Linked DNA regions of Homo sapiens: region 2 is linked to region 1. Evidence: promoter capture Hi-C in 16 types of primary human blood cells and fetal thymus (Javierre and others, 2016). All regions are on one chromosome and are shown on one strand. Each heading gives the region's core, a stretch centred on a gene start or on the middle of the fragment in contact. The rest is flanking DNA. Distances are from core to core; before and after follow the strand shown.

Region 1 (5,871 bases), core at 1,154-3,653:
CACAGAAGAAGCAAAGTTAAACATTTATTTTTCTGAAGGCTAAGGTTATAAAGAACAACAAAAACAATAAAACTAAGCTTTTAAAGATTTTTCCTCAGAACATAAACAAATAATTTAATCCAAAAAGAAAAATATTTCCATGTTTACTGATGCTAATCATTTTATTCTGAAACTCCGTGGGTTTTTTGCAGGAGTGGGGGATTGCAATGTAAGAGAGTAAAACGATAATACATCCAGAAAAAAGGAAATTTGATACCTTAATCTTTTGACCATCAAGGAAAATTCAGGATTCAGGTCAGAGTACATTTTTCACTGAAAAACACAGTGCAAATACAATTAATGACAATGACTTATTTAGCAAGTAAGGTAAAATATAAGTTCCACCTGTATGAAAAGATAATTTTGACTTTGAGAGTACACTTAGATGAATGTCATTTAACAGATCCAGGTTGTCACCTTATATTTTACACAATATTTCGAGAACTAAGAACTTTCTCTTCCATATTCTAAAAGATGAATAACATGAACATATCGGGAAGCACCATCGTTTTGCAGGTCCAATGGGTGTCATTTTAAAACCACCCAAGTACACTGAGACCGCTAACGCTAGTAATGTGGTGTTTGGCAGCTAGTTTTAATGACTGTCATTAGAGCTTTATTTTTTATTTTCTTTTTATAGAGACGAGCCCAGGCTGGTCTTGAACTCCTGGCCTCAAGCGATCAGCCTGCTTTGGCCCCCAAAGTGCTGGGATTACAGGCGTGAGCCACCGTGCCAGCCTCGTTAGTTTGAAAAGCACCAAAAGCTATCCATAGGAATGTGAACTTTAGCATTTCCTATCAAGTATGTATAAATACATAACTGAACCCTCATACAGCATAAAGCTTATAAATCATATACTGAGGCCAGGCGCGGTGGCTCACGTCTGTAATCCCAGCATTCTGGGAGGCCTAGGCGGGCGGATCACTTGAGGTCAGGCGTTGGAGACCAGCCTGGCCAGCACAGCGAAACCCCGTCTCTACTAAAAATGCAAAAATTAGCCGGGCGTGGTGGCGCGGGCCTGTAATCCCAGCTACCCCGAGGCTGAGGCAGGAGAATCGCTAGAACGAACCCAGGGAGGTGGAAGCTGCAGTGAGCCGAGATGGTGCCACTACACTCCCGCCTGGGCGACAGAGCAAGATTCCATCTCAAATAAATAAATAAAATAAAAAATAAATCATATACTGAACCATTTAACAAATACATATATTCCTGAGAAAGAATTTCCTGGGGGCATTATCGCATTTCTAGTTTCCTTATTTTAGACTATTTCAGAGGGAGATAGGGTCTCCCTCTGTTGCCCAGGCTGGGGTGCAGTGGAGCTATCGTAGCTCACTGCAGCCTCGAACTCCTGGGCTCAAGCCATCCTCCAGCCTCGACCTCCCAAAGTGCTAGGACTAAAGGCGTGAGCCACCGCGCCGGGCCGGAGCCTCTGTCTGCAAAGGTGAAGCAGTCAGTACTGTGGGGCGACACAACCACGACGTGCGTAACTATGCGATCTCCACACTGCGGAGCAGTTGAACGGGACAATAAAAGCTCGCGTGGTGAGAGCTTGTGGGCGAGTGACTCCCTTCCAGCTCACGCCAGCCACGCATAATCCAACTCCGGGTGCCACGCCGCTCTCTGCAGCCCTGGCTGGTGACGCCGAGCCCTCAGCCCGGCCTTACGCGGCGGCGGCTCTGCCTCGCTTTCCTGCCCACGTGTCAGCCCCTGCACGCCCGGCCCCGGCCTGAGGCCGCCAGAGGACAGGCCAGGGTGGGCCGCCCGTTCCGAGGGCGCGCGGGCGGAAAGGAGGGGCGCCCGTGACTCACATGACCCGGTCCCCGACCAGACCGCCAAGCCTCACCCACGCGGCGCTCGGGGGGACTCGGCCTCTGAGCGCCCTACAGAGGCCAGCCCCCGACCCCGACCTCCCTGGGCTACCCCCAACCCCCCTGAGGGACCCCCGCGGCGCACATACCTGAGAGCCCCGCCGGAGGCGGGTGCGGCCTCCGGGCAAATCCGGCCGCCCGTGGGCCCGCCCCGACCCGCCCCGACCCGCCCCGACCTTCCCCTCCCTGCCCCTCCCGTCCGTTCCCCTCCACTCTCCTCCCCGCCCTTCCTCTCCCCTCCCCTCCCTTCCCCACTGGCGCGCGAGCGTGCGCGCCGAGCCCGCCCGCGCCTGCGCGCCCCCGACGCCCCGCCGGCGCGCGCTGCCGCCAGCGAGGCCCGGGGAGGCCGCGGCGGAGGCGGAGGCCCGGCGCCCTGGGCGGCGCCCTGTCCCCGAAGTCCGTCCTCCCCGTTAGGTGGCGAGCGCCCGAGGGGAGGGGACAGCCGGGCAAGCAGGAAGCTGCGGCTTAAAAGGGCAACCCGCGCGGGACCCTTCCTCCCTAGTCGCGGGGAGTCTGAGAAAGCGCGCCTGTTTCGCGACCATCACGCACCTCCCCTCCGCTTGTGGCCATGTACCGCTACCTGGGCGAAGCGCTGTTGCTGTCCCGGGCCGGGCCCGCTGCCCTGGGCTCGGCGTCCGCCGACTCGGCCGCGTTGCTGGGCTGGGCCCGGGGACAGCCCGCCGCCGCCCCGCAGCCGGGGCTGGCATTGGCCGCCCGGCGCCACTACAGCGAGGCGGTGGCCGACCGCGAGGACGACCCCAACTTCTTCAAGATGGTGGAGGGCTTCTTCGATCGCGGCGCCAGCATCGTGGAGGACAAGCTGGTGGAGGACCTGAGGACCCGGGAGAGCGAGGAGCAGAAGCGGAACCGGGTGCGCGGCATCCTGCGGATCATCAAGCCCTGCAACCATGTGCTGAGTCTCTCCTTCCCCATCCGGCGCGACGACGGCTCCTGGGAGGTCATCGAAGGCTACCGGGCCCAGCACAGCCAGCACCGCACGCCCTGCAAGGGAGGTGAGCGTCGGCCGGGCCCCGTCCCGCCCTCCCTGCCTCCCCTGCGGCCCTCCCCTCCGGCCTCCTGCCGGTGCGGGGCCGCTGCTCAGCCCAGCCCAGCCCAGCTGGAGCGGGCCGGGTCCCCGCCCGGGTCACCCCGCCTCGGATGTGGCCGGCTCTGTGGATGGTGATTTTTCCGCCTTAAAATCATCATGCGATTGGCCTGCCCCCTCCCCCGCGCCGTCACCCCGGGCCTCTGTATATGCTGATCTTGCATGCAGAGTAGACGCTGCACCGGTCTCCTTTTGGTCCCGGTGTCTGTGTCACACACGGCGGGTCCTGCCGAAATGCACTTCTAGGAAAGGGAATGACCTGCCCGTGTGATAATGCCTCGTCAGTGTTCTTGGGCTTTTGTGAGTCTCCCCTAAATGCAAGCTGTCAAATTATTTTCTGGTATTTGTTCACTCCTGTTCCAATAGTGACAGATGATATCCGAACATAGAAAATGACTTGGCTTCTAAGTTTGAAATCTAGACAGTTTTATTAACCAAAGGAATTTACTAATCACGCGTTAATCGTTTCAATTAAGTAATTTTCCCATTCTGACAAGTTCTGTTTTATACCAAAAAAAAGGAAAAACACAAAAAAATCACAAGCAATGTAATATCTCTGACAAATAAACACCTGGCGTCCTGACAGTAAATTTACAGGTTGTAGGCTGCGGATGGCCAGCCAGCCAATGGAATGAAATAGCTCTGGGGGTGTGTACTGGTCCTGGCTAGCCCTGAATTTGAGCTTCAGGAAAAATATAGTACGTGAAGAAAGGGGTCAGATAATGTTTGGTAGTCACTGGGTTATCCTGTGGTTTAAATCATTTAATGTCTGTAGATTTGGCCTCTGTAGTCAGATTGCTTTCTTCGAGCAAATAAGAGCTTTTTTCCCCCCAATACATTGCATCATACCTCTTTAGTAACATAAAATGGAAAGGACAAACCACTTTTGTCTACTGTAAAAAAGAAAAATTATATGGAATAAAGAGCCCAGGGAGGCGAGGAGTCTTGTTGGAGGTGGATTGGCTGAGAAGCACAGAGGATGTTGGGCTAGACCCATGTCTCAGTAAACCTGGTTCTGTGGTCTTTCAGTTATGCCCGCTGACTTATGAGGATTTTTAGAAATCCTCTCTGTACCGGAAAAAACTTGAGCGGTGCTGGTGTTCCCAGCAGGGGGGACAAAGGTTGTTTTTAAAGATTTACTAAATTTGCATTGACCCCGCCCACTTCTAGGACTTAACTTTGGAGCTTAATTATCCCCTAGCTCTGGTTGCCTCAGCCAAAACCAATGTTTGAACCACTTTGACCTCTGATTTCCTTTCTAGCTTCAAAATTGTATAAAATGTACACACCGTCAGTCTCCTACATTTGCCTGCCTTCTTCCTACCACTCCCTTATTATCCAAACCAGGAAAACAAGTTCAGACTCCAAAGAAAGGCAAATAAGGATGTTGGAGGAAGTTCAGGCAATGTTTAGCAAATATTGAGTTGCATCGTTTTCTTAAAACGGACATCAAGTTTATTTTTTACTATCTTGCTGGCAGCATTTGCCAGTCCTTTAAAAGGTGTACAGATAAATCAGTGTATGTGGTTTTCTGCAGGATGATTTGGTCTCTGAAATCCTTTTTCTTCGATTCTTCAGATGCCCAGCTCTCTCCTGTTTTTATAAGTCGCAGCTCCGCAAACTCACTGAAGCAACTCGTTTACCATAGTTTGTGAGTCCTCTTTCTCTTGTTGCCACAGCAGTTTTAATGCCAAAATATTGAACCTAGCAACAAATTGGGTCAGCCATACCAAAGCACTGTTACTGTAGCACTTGCTTGTACTAGAGTGTAAGATACAATTTTCTGTTCCGTTTATCCCATTTACAAAAAAACATGCTATTAACCCCCAGCATATAAACAGGGAGAAACTGAATTGTTACTAGTAAACTGTTGCAAGCATTGATAGAACATCAAAGAAAATTGGCCTCTACAAAGTGACAAATTTATTATCTTCAGGAATTTGAAAGGCTTTCTGGATTGGGGAAGATTACATAGCTATGAAAGCCCTTAAATATTTTAGTTTGCTTAATAAACAGTATACTAAACAGATGATCAGCAAAATTTGGGTACTATAGCCTTCCATGCTTTGTGTTCAAGACATCCCCAGATCTATCTACCCATTTATCACCCTTGTTTGCAGAGAATGTGCATTGTAAGAGAGACAGGTCTTCTTTCTTAAAGCTTTTTTAACGTCTAAGAAATTGTTAACCTTTGTAGTCCCACTCTAGTCTTAGAAACACAGAATATATTAGGTGATTGAGATTTTTTTAAATGCTTTGGATAATCCCTATGAAATTCTGTCTTTCCCTCTTAAACATATTTTAACACGTTCTTCTTACCTCTCCCCACTAACCTGTCTTCTCTCCCATTGGTTCTTTGCCAAAAAAAAAAACCTCATCTGCCTCTCTCCACCCTTTTACCAACCTTCAGCTTTCTGTATCTCATTTTCCCTCAAGAACAACCTTATCCCTGAGTTTTCTAAATTAAAATTCTTGAGGTTGAAGCAAAGCAACAATCTAGCAATAATCTCTAAGGGAAACAGATGGTTATAAGACTTGGTGGCTGATGTGTACTTTTTCCAAGTAAATATTTAATAATACACACTGTTTTTGTGCTTTTCTTTTCCCAGTTACTACATGTACCTGAGGCCGTTAGATTTGTCTGTGTTAAGGATTTGAAAGGGTAAGCTAAAGGATCTGAAGGGAAGTTTAAGTGAGGCCTTAAAAATATTTCCAGCAAAGGGGCATAGTGTGAGAATATGCGACTGATTTGAGAAGACTGGTTCAAAAGTTCTGGTGGGTTTGGAAATATTATCAAAGATTGTTCTATTAACTTTCCCAGAGTAAATTATCTGTATTTCATTTGCTATGGTTCTGCC
Region 2 (5,871 bases), core at 1,247-3,746, 4.1 Mb before region 1:
GGCGGCGGCGGCGGCGCTGGCGGCGGCGGGCGCGGGGCGAGCGCGCCGAGGGGGCGGAGGAGTTACCGTGGGTTTGTTTACGCATTGCTGCCCGGCTCGGGGCACAGCCCGCACTCCCTGATTGGACACAAACTGGGGCACAGCCTCTCGCCGCCGCCCGCCAGGCCTCCTCGAGCCGCCGCCGCGCAGCTCCCGGAGCGTCCTGCCGGGCACGGCCCACGGCGGTGCCCAGGCCTGGAGGGGACGAGCCGCGGCGGCTGCCCCGGGCGGGCGTGAAGCCAAGCTTTCGCTCGGGGCTCGCAGTCTCCCACCTGTAGTGGCCCGACCTTGGCAAGGAGAAATTCGAAACTTCTCAGGCCGGAGACTTCGAATCGTACAGCCTCTGAGGGGGCACCTTCTCCCCCCACAGACGGAGGAAGCGTGCCCTTGAATAGATGGAAGGCAGCTCGAATGTCAGTATGCCTCCCTGGCGATGGTCAAGTCCAGGCTTCCCGTATAAGCTGCCCTCCACCCGAGAGCTCGCAGTTTCTTTTCCTGCCTCCAGCTTCTTTGCTTCTAATCGCAAAGTCCCCCCACCCCACCCCACCCCCGCCACCCCACCAGAAGTGACCTTGCCGCCCTGATGCTGAAGATCCTCCAGTGACTCACCATGGCCTCGAGCCTTAATGCCTCATTCTCAGAGTCCTCAATAGCTGGGCCTCCATTTTTCAGTCTCCCCTCCACTTCCCTACCCTCACCCCAAAGCCTCCGTTTACAGACAACACCTGAAATGTGTCTGTCCTTTGACACTTTATTTTGATCCTTCTCTGTTCTCTGCCAGAATACCCCTTAGCCGCCTCCACCTGTCAAACTTTGTTGGACTCAGCTCCTGTAGCCGTCTCCTACCATCTCTGTGCAGTCTTCCTGCTCCCCCAAGCAGAATCCCCCCTTGTGGCTGGCATCATTCTGACCTGGGGGTCAGTTGTGTGCATGTGCTGTACCCTCTCTGATCTGTGGATTCCTTAAAGAGGAGTCTGCTTTTAACAGAGCTCTGGTGATGGGAGAAATGAAAGCTGTAAGACTAATATTGCCTCCGAGTGTCTGCAGCTCTGGTGAGACTGGAAAAGTTCAGGAGTCTTTATCAAGAGGCTCTCCTGATAGGTCCGCAAACCTCATCTTGCAGGAAGCAAACACTTCCAAAAACTGAGCATGCCCTCCATTTTTCCTGCGTCTCTATATCTCCTCCCCACCACACCTAGCTATGTGCCCTCCATACTCATAATGGGCACTTAAGTAACCCTTGAGGAATAAAATTGAATTCTACAGAGATGTTCCTTAAGCCAAGGCTGGCGGTGATCAAAGAGAATAGAGTAAATCATGAAAAAGTAGACATGAACCCAGTCATTTTACAGCTAATTCCTAGGCTAAGAGCCTTCCGGCCCTGTTAGGTAGTGTGGGTTTGTCGCTGTCTGATCACACACTGAAGTAGACCCTGACCCTTCTTGACTCCTGGGACTGCTAGATTTTTTTCTCCGATGCGCTGCTTGCAGTCCCATTAGGAAAAGTGTCTTTGAACTCTGCAAGTGAATCCAGCGAAAGTATTCTTTCCCAAGCGAGTCAATAGCAATAATTTAATGCAGCAAATTAGTTACAAGTGTTGAAAGAACTGGACGTTCAACTAGGGTAAGGTGAGGCAATCCTGAGATTAGCAACTGCTGGACGTGCCTTCTCCCCTGAGGCTGGAGGGGCAAAGAGAGGAGACAGCCGGAACCCTGGAGGGCTTGTCCAATAGGAGTTGGAGCCACAAAGTTAGTGCAACTACTGCGGCAGACATCTTCCAAAGTAGGGGATGAGAGTCCCCCTGGCTTCTCCCTGCCTCCCACCCTCCAAGCCCACCCAGTGGTGGAAAGCAGGAGAAGCCAGTGGACAAGATGACAGAGGGCAGGGCTCAGAATCCCTACAGAATATGTGACAGCCGCAAAAGGAGAATGGGTCTGAGAGCCCAGCGGCAAATGACTGGCACCTGGGCTTGGGTGCTGCACCTGGTTGCCTCTTCCTTTAGGCCGGATTCCGCAGTGCAGCAGGAACTTTCTCTTCCCGAGGCCTAGAATTCTCTCCTTCTTACTTGTCCCTCTTTGCCCTTCTGCTTCCATTACCGTTCTATCCTCTTCTTCGCCGTCACTCCCTTACATTTCTTTTTTCTGTCTCGTCTTGTGTACTCTGGCTCTCGTTTTTTCTTTGTGTTCCCATATATCTCCGCCTGACTTCTTTTCCCCCCCAGAGTCTCTTCTCCCCTCTTCTTGTCCTACTCCTCCCTGGGCAGGATGGCAGCTTTCTTCAGCATGAAGGAGATGACCAGTTGCCTATGGAAGGAAGAGATTAGGAATTATCCTGTTGCTGCCCTTCCAGACAGTGTAGTAGATATTTTACAAACGTTCTCATTTAATCTTCATCTCACTCCTACTAGCTGGGCAACATTTAATATAATCTGGTGACTTTGCTATTGCCTGTCACAAGGAAGGCTTTGTGCCCGTCACCAACAACACTGCTGACGGTTCTCTTACCTTTCCTGTACGTGGTTCCCTGCAACCTTTCTTCTTATCCTACATCTTTTCCTTTCATTAGCACAGATACTTCGCCCAAATCCCAACGCCCAACAGTCTAATACATCCGCACTTTAAATCCCCAAAGACTGAGAATGGCTATTTAGAGGAGGTGCATTTCAGCTGGCACTTGAAGGATGGATAGATTTTCAACAGATGGAAATGGAGGAAGGGTATTCTTGGTGGAAGAGTAAATTATGTGGTTTACGTTGACTGAAACAAGGGATAACTAAGAAATGAAGCCATATTTCAGAAACTTGTCTTCAGCTCTCAGTTCTCTGAGACTATTCCGAAACACAGATTAACCATGAGCGTATTAAATATAGATATGATTTATATAATTAGAATCATAGTGTTTAAAGCCAGAAAGAATTTTCAACATTGTTTGGTGCAACGTGTCCAGTTTTAAGTGAGGGAACTGAAGCCCAAAAGACTTAATACCTGGGATATCATAATGATTAAACATGGGCATTAGAGTTTGACTACCTGTATTCAAATCCCTACTTTAACAAATTTTAGTTTATCTGACCTTGAATTATCTGTGGGTAAGTTTTCTTATCTATAAAATAGAGAAAAATGATAGAATCTACTTCAGTGGGTTGTCATGAGAATGAAATATCGTCATATGTAAAACACTCTTGCCCAGTTCAGACTGCCATAACAAACTACCATAAACTGGGTGGCTTAAACAACAAACATTCATTTCTCACAGTTCTGGAGGCTGGAAGTATGACATCAGAGTGCCAGCACAGTCAGGGGTTGGCTGAGGGCCTTTCTTCCTCCTCTGGAGTGCTGACTTCTCATGGTATCCTTACATAGTGAAAAGACACTGAGCCTCGGAGCTCTCTGGGGTTCCTTTTATGAGGGCAGTCATCCCATTAATGAGGACTCCACTCTCATGACTTAATTACTTCCCAAAGGCCCCACCTCCCAATACCATCACACTGGAGGGTAGGATTTCAACATATGAATTTGAGGGGAGCCATGAACATTCAGTCAATTATAGACATGTTATAGGTGCCTGGCATATAGACAGTACTCATTAAATATAGGCAAAAAAAAATTATGACTTCCTGTGGCTATCCAGCTAGTAAATACCAGAACTAGAACTGGTACCCCAAGTTTTTGTGGCCCTAATTGTATGTTCCCTGCATTATTTGAAGCTATGTCTTATGATGCTTGTTTAACACCATCTGTGAAGATATGGTGCTCCTCTAGTCTGCTGTTTAAAGAAGTGCTCAGTTATCTTTCTAGCTCCAATTTCTCTACATTTCCTGCTTCCTGCTTCCTGCTTCTGCTAGCCCTGGATCCCCCCACCAGTCCTCAGCAATCTTAGCATACTGTGAAGTTCCAGGGGAGAAAGGGAGCAGGAAAAATTATCAGCAAACCTGTATTTTATAGTCAACTGTTTAGGTTACAAGTTCTGATATAGTAAAATTTTACTAATTTAAATTTCAAAGGGCCAAAAATATTGAGTTAAAGATATTCAAATTATCTGTTATTCTTCAGCCTACAGGGTGTCAACTCTACCAGCTTAAATTTTAGTAGTTCCTTAGGGGGATTCACTGGGACCAAGAAAAAGCATTGTTTGGGGTATCTAATTCTTCAACAAAGTTGTGATGGAAGAGAACAAATTTCTTTGTCCCTCTTCCTTTTTACCTAGTCGCTGGTCCCACTTTTCAAAACTCCTCCAGCCCCATGACCTTTATGTAGTCCACTCTCTCTTGACCATAAGCATCTTGAGGCAATGAACCACAACTTACTTGCCTTTTAATGTCTAGAACCTAGCTCAATATCTGGAGTATAATAGGCAGCCACATGTTGTTGAACTGACTGACTTGAGTAATGCTGCACCAAATACCAAAGGAATCCCTTCCTCCTCCCCCTTCAAATCTTTGTCTCCTCAGTTCGCCGTAGCTAGTTGTCATCCTGTTACCCTAATGCACCGGAAAGCATGGTAACAGCTGAATGTGAAATAAATGTGCATTTTATATTATGAAGTACATTTAAAGAGGTTTATTTTAATGGTGTAAAGCCAGGCAGTATTTTAAGAAGATCAGGAAGACATTTTTGGGGCAGCTGGACTTTCCCAACACCTTCATATCACACCACACAAACTGAAGCTTATCTCTCCTATAAATAAAGTCTACTTGACTTTCATTGTTACACATTTTACTTTAGATTTCTTAGGTTAATTGTCAACAGCCTGTATTCTACATATGGGTGTATTAATTAATCCTGCCTAAGTCATTTCTTAAAAGGCACCATTTGTCTTAATCTTAAAAAGTAAGTAATTGTCCCACTTCTCTCTTTTACTTCAAGGCCAGACTAATGATCCAATACCTTGATCACTCACTGCCTCTTGAATTCCTGAAATCTACCTTCTACTTCCTCTAATTCATTTACATGCTTCCTCTAGGAAGTTGGAAGGAATCCAAAGGATTAATTCTAGATCAACTTATCATTTTTGAAAGAGGAAATTGAGGAACAAAAATGTTAGTGGCGGAATCTCCAGTTCCCACAGCACTCATCCCATGCTCCATCCTCTTATCATGTGTCCTTAAAACACAGCTAAAAGTGAATTTCCCACTGTCAACTCCCCTCCTGGCTTCCCTGTTTATGCCAATCACCACCATCCATTGGGCTCTTTAGGATTAAAATGGGCGATCTTTGATGACTCCTTCTCTTTAGGCCTCTACTTCCACTTTGGGATGTCTCTCTTGCTTGTCTTTTTTGTCTGAATTTTCCCATGAATCAGGGCATTTTCTCTTTACAACTGTTATTACAATAGGTTGCTAATGGTTTCACTGTCTCCAAATTCTTCCTCTTACAGAGTGAACCCAGCAGAAGAACCAACTTCAGTCAAAAATTTTATAGGCATAGTAAAATGGTGCCATTTTGCCATATAAAATCAAATTCAACATGCATTCAGACTATCAATAAAATATGAGTTTATATTGTCAAGCCTTTCTGGTTCTGAAATATATAGTAATAACTAGCTATGTGATCTTGGGCACATTTAATTCTATGAATTGCAATGTCCTCAGTCTGTTAACTGTTGATATTGTTAGTATATGTGCCTAACTCAAAGGGTTGTTTGAAAATTAAATGGGATAACAAATGTAAAGTACTTAATAGTAATAGTTGCAATAACTATTTGTTGTGGTCCTACTATTGATCAAACATTAGTCTAAGCTATTTAAATGAATTATGTCACATCAACCCTATAACATGGATACCATTATTATTTCTAGATGAGAAAACTGAGGCCCAGAGAAGTTTAAAAACT

Evidence for each region. The method cuts DNA at HindIII sites, captures the fragments that hold promoters and counts their contacts. A CHiCAGO score of 5 or more calls a contact.
Region 2: a contact is called between a fragment that was not itself captured here and the fragment with the promoter of GLUD1 in region 1, in 2 of 17 cell types (non-activated CD4 T cells and naive CD8 T cells). The highest score is 9.1, in non-activated CD4 T cells.

The regions. Positions count from the first base shown.
Region 1 is chr10:87,091,375-87,097,245 of GRCh38, reverse strand. It overlaps GLUD1 (glutamate dehydrogenase 1), which reads left to right and starts at 2,403. Exons shown (of 13, transcript NM_005271.5): 1 at 2,403-2,921. The coding sequence starts at 2,477. It overlaps SHLD2 (shieldin complex subunit 2), which reads right to left and starts at 2,040. Exons shown (of 10, transcript NM_001330112.2): 1 at 1,998-2,040; 2 at 257-312. RefSeq lists enhancers at 1,390-1,449, 3,854-4,391 and silencers at 1,492-1,749, 1,670-2,369, 2,490-2,629, 2,830-3,169. The HindIII fragment of the contact is 4,292 bases long and covers 885-5,176 here.
Region 2 is chr10:91,157,025-91,162,895 of GRCh38, reverse strand. It overlaps a transcript of PCGF5 not described here. Among named protein-coding and RNA genes, the nearest start is that of PCGF5, 61 kb to the left of the region's middle. RefSeq lists silencers at 1-228, 329-418. The HindIII fragment of the contact is 4,422 bases long and covers 286-4,707 here.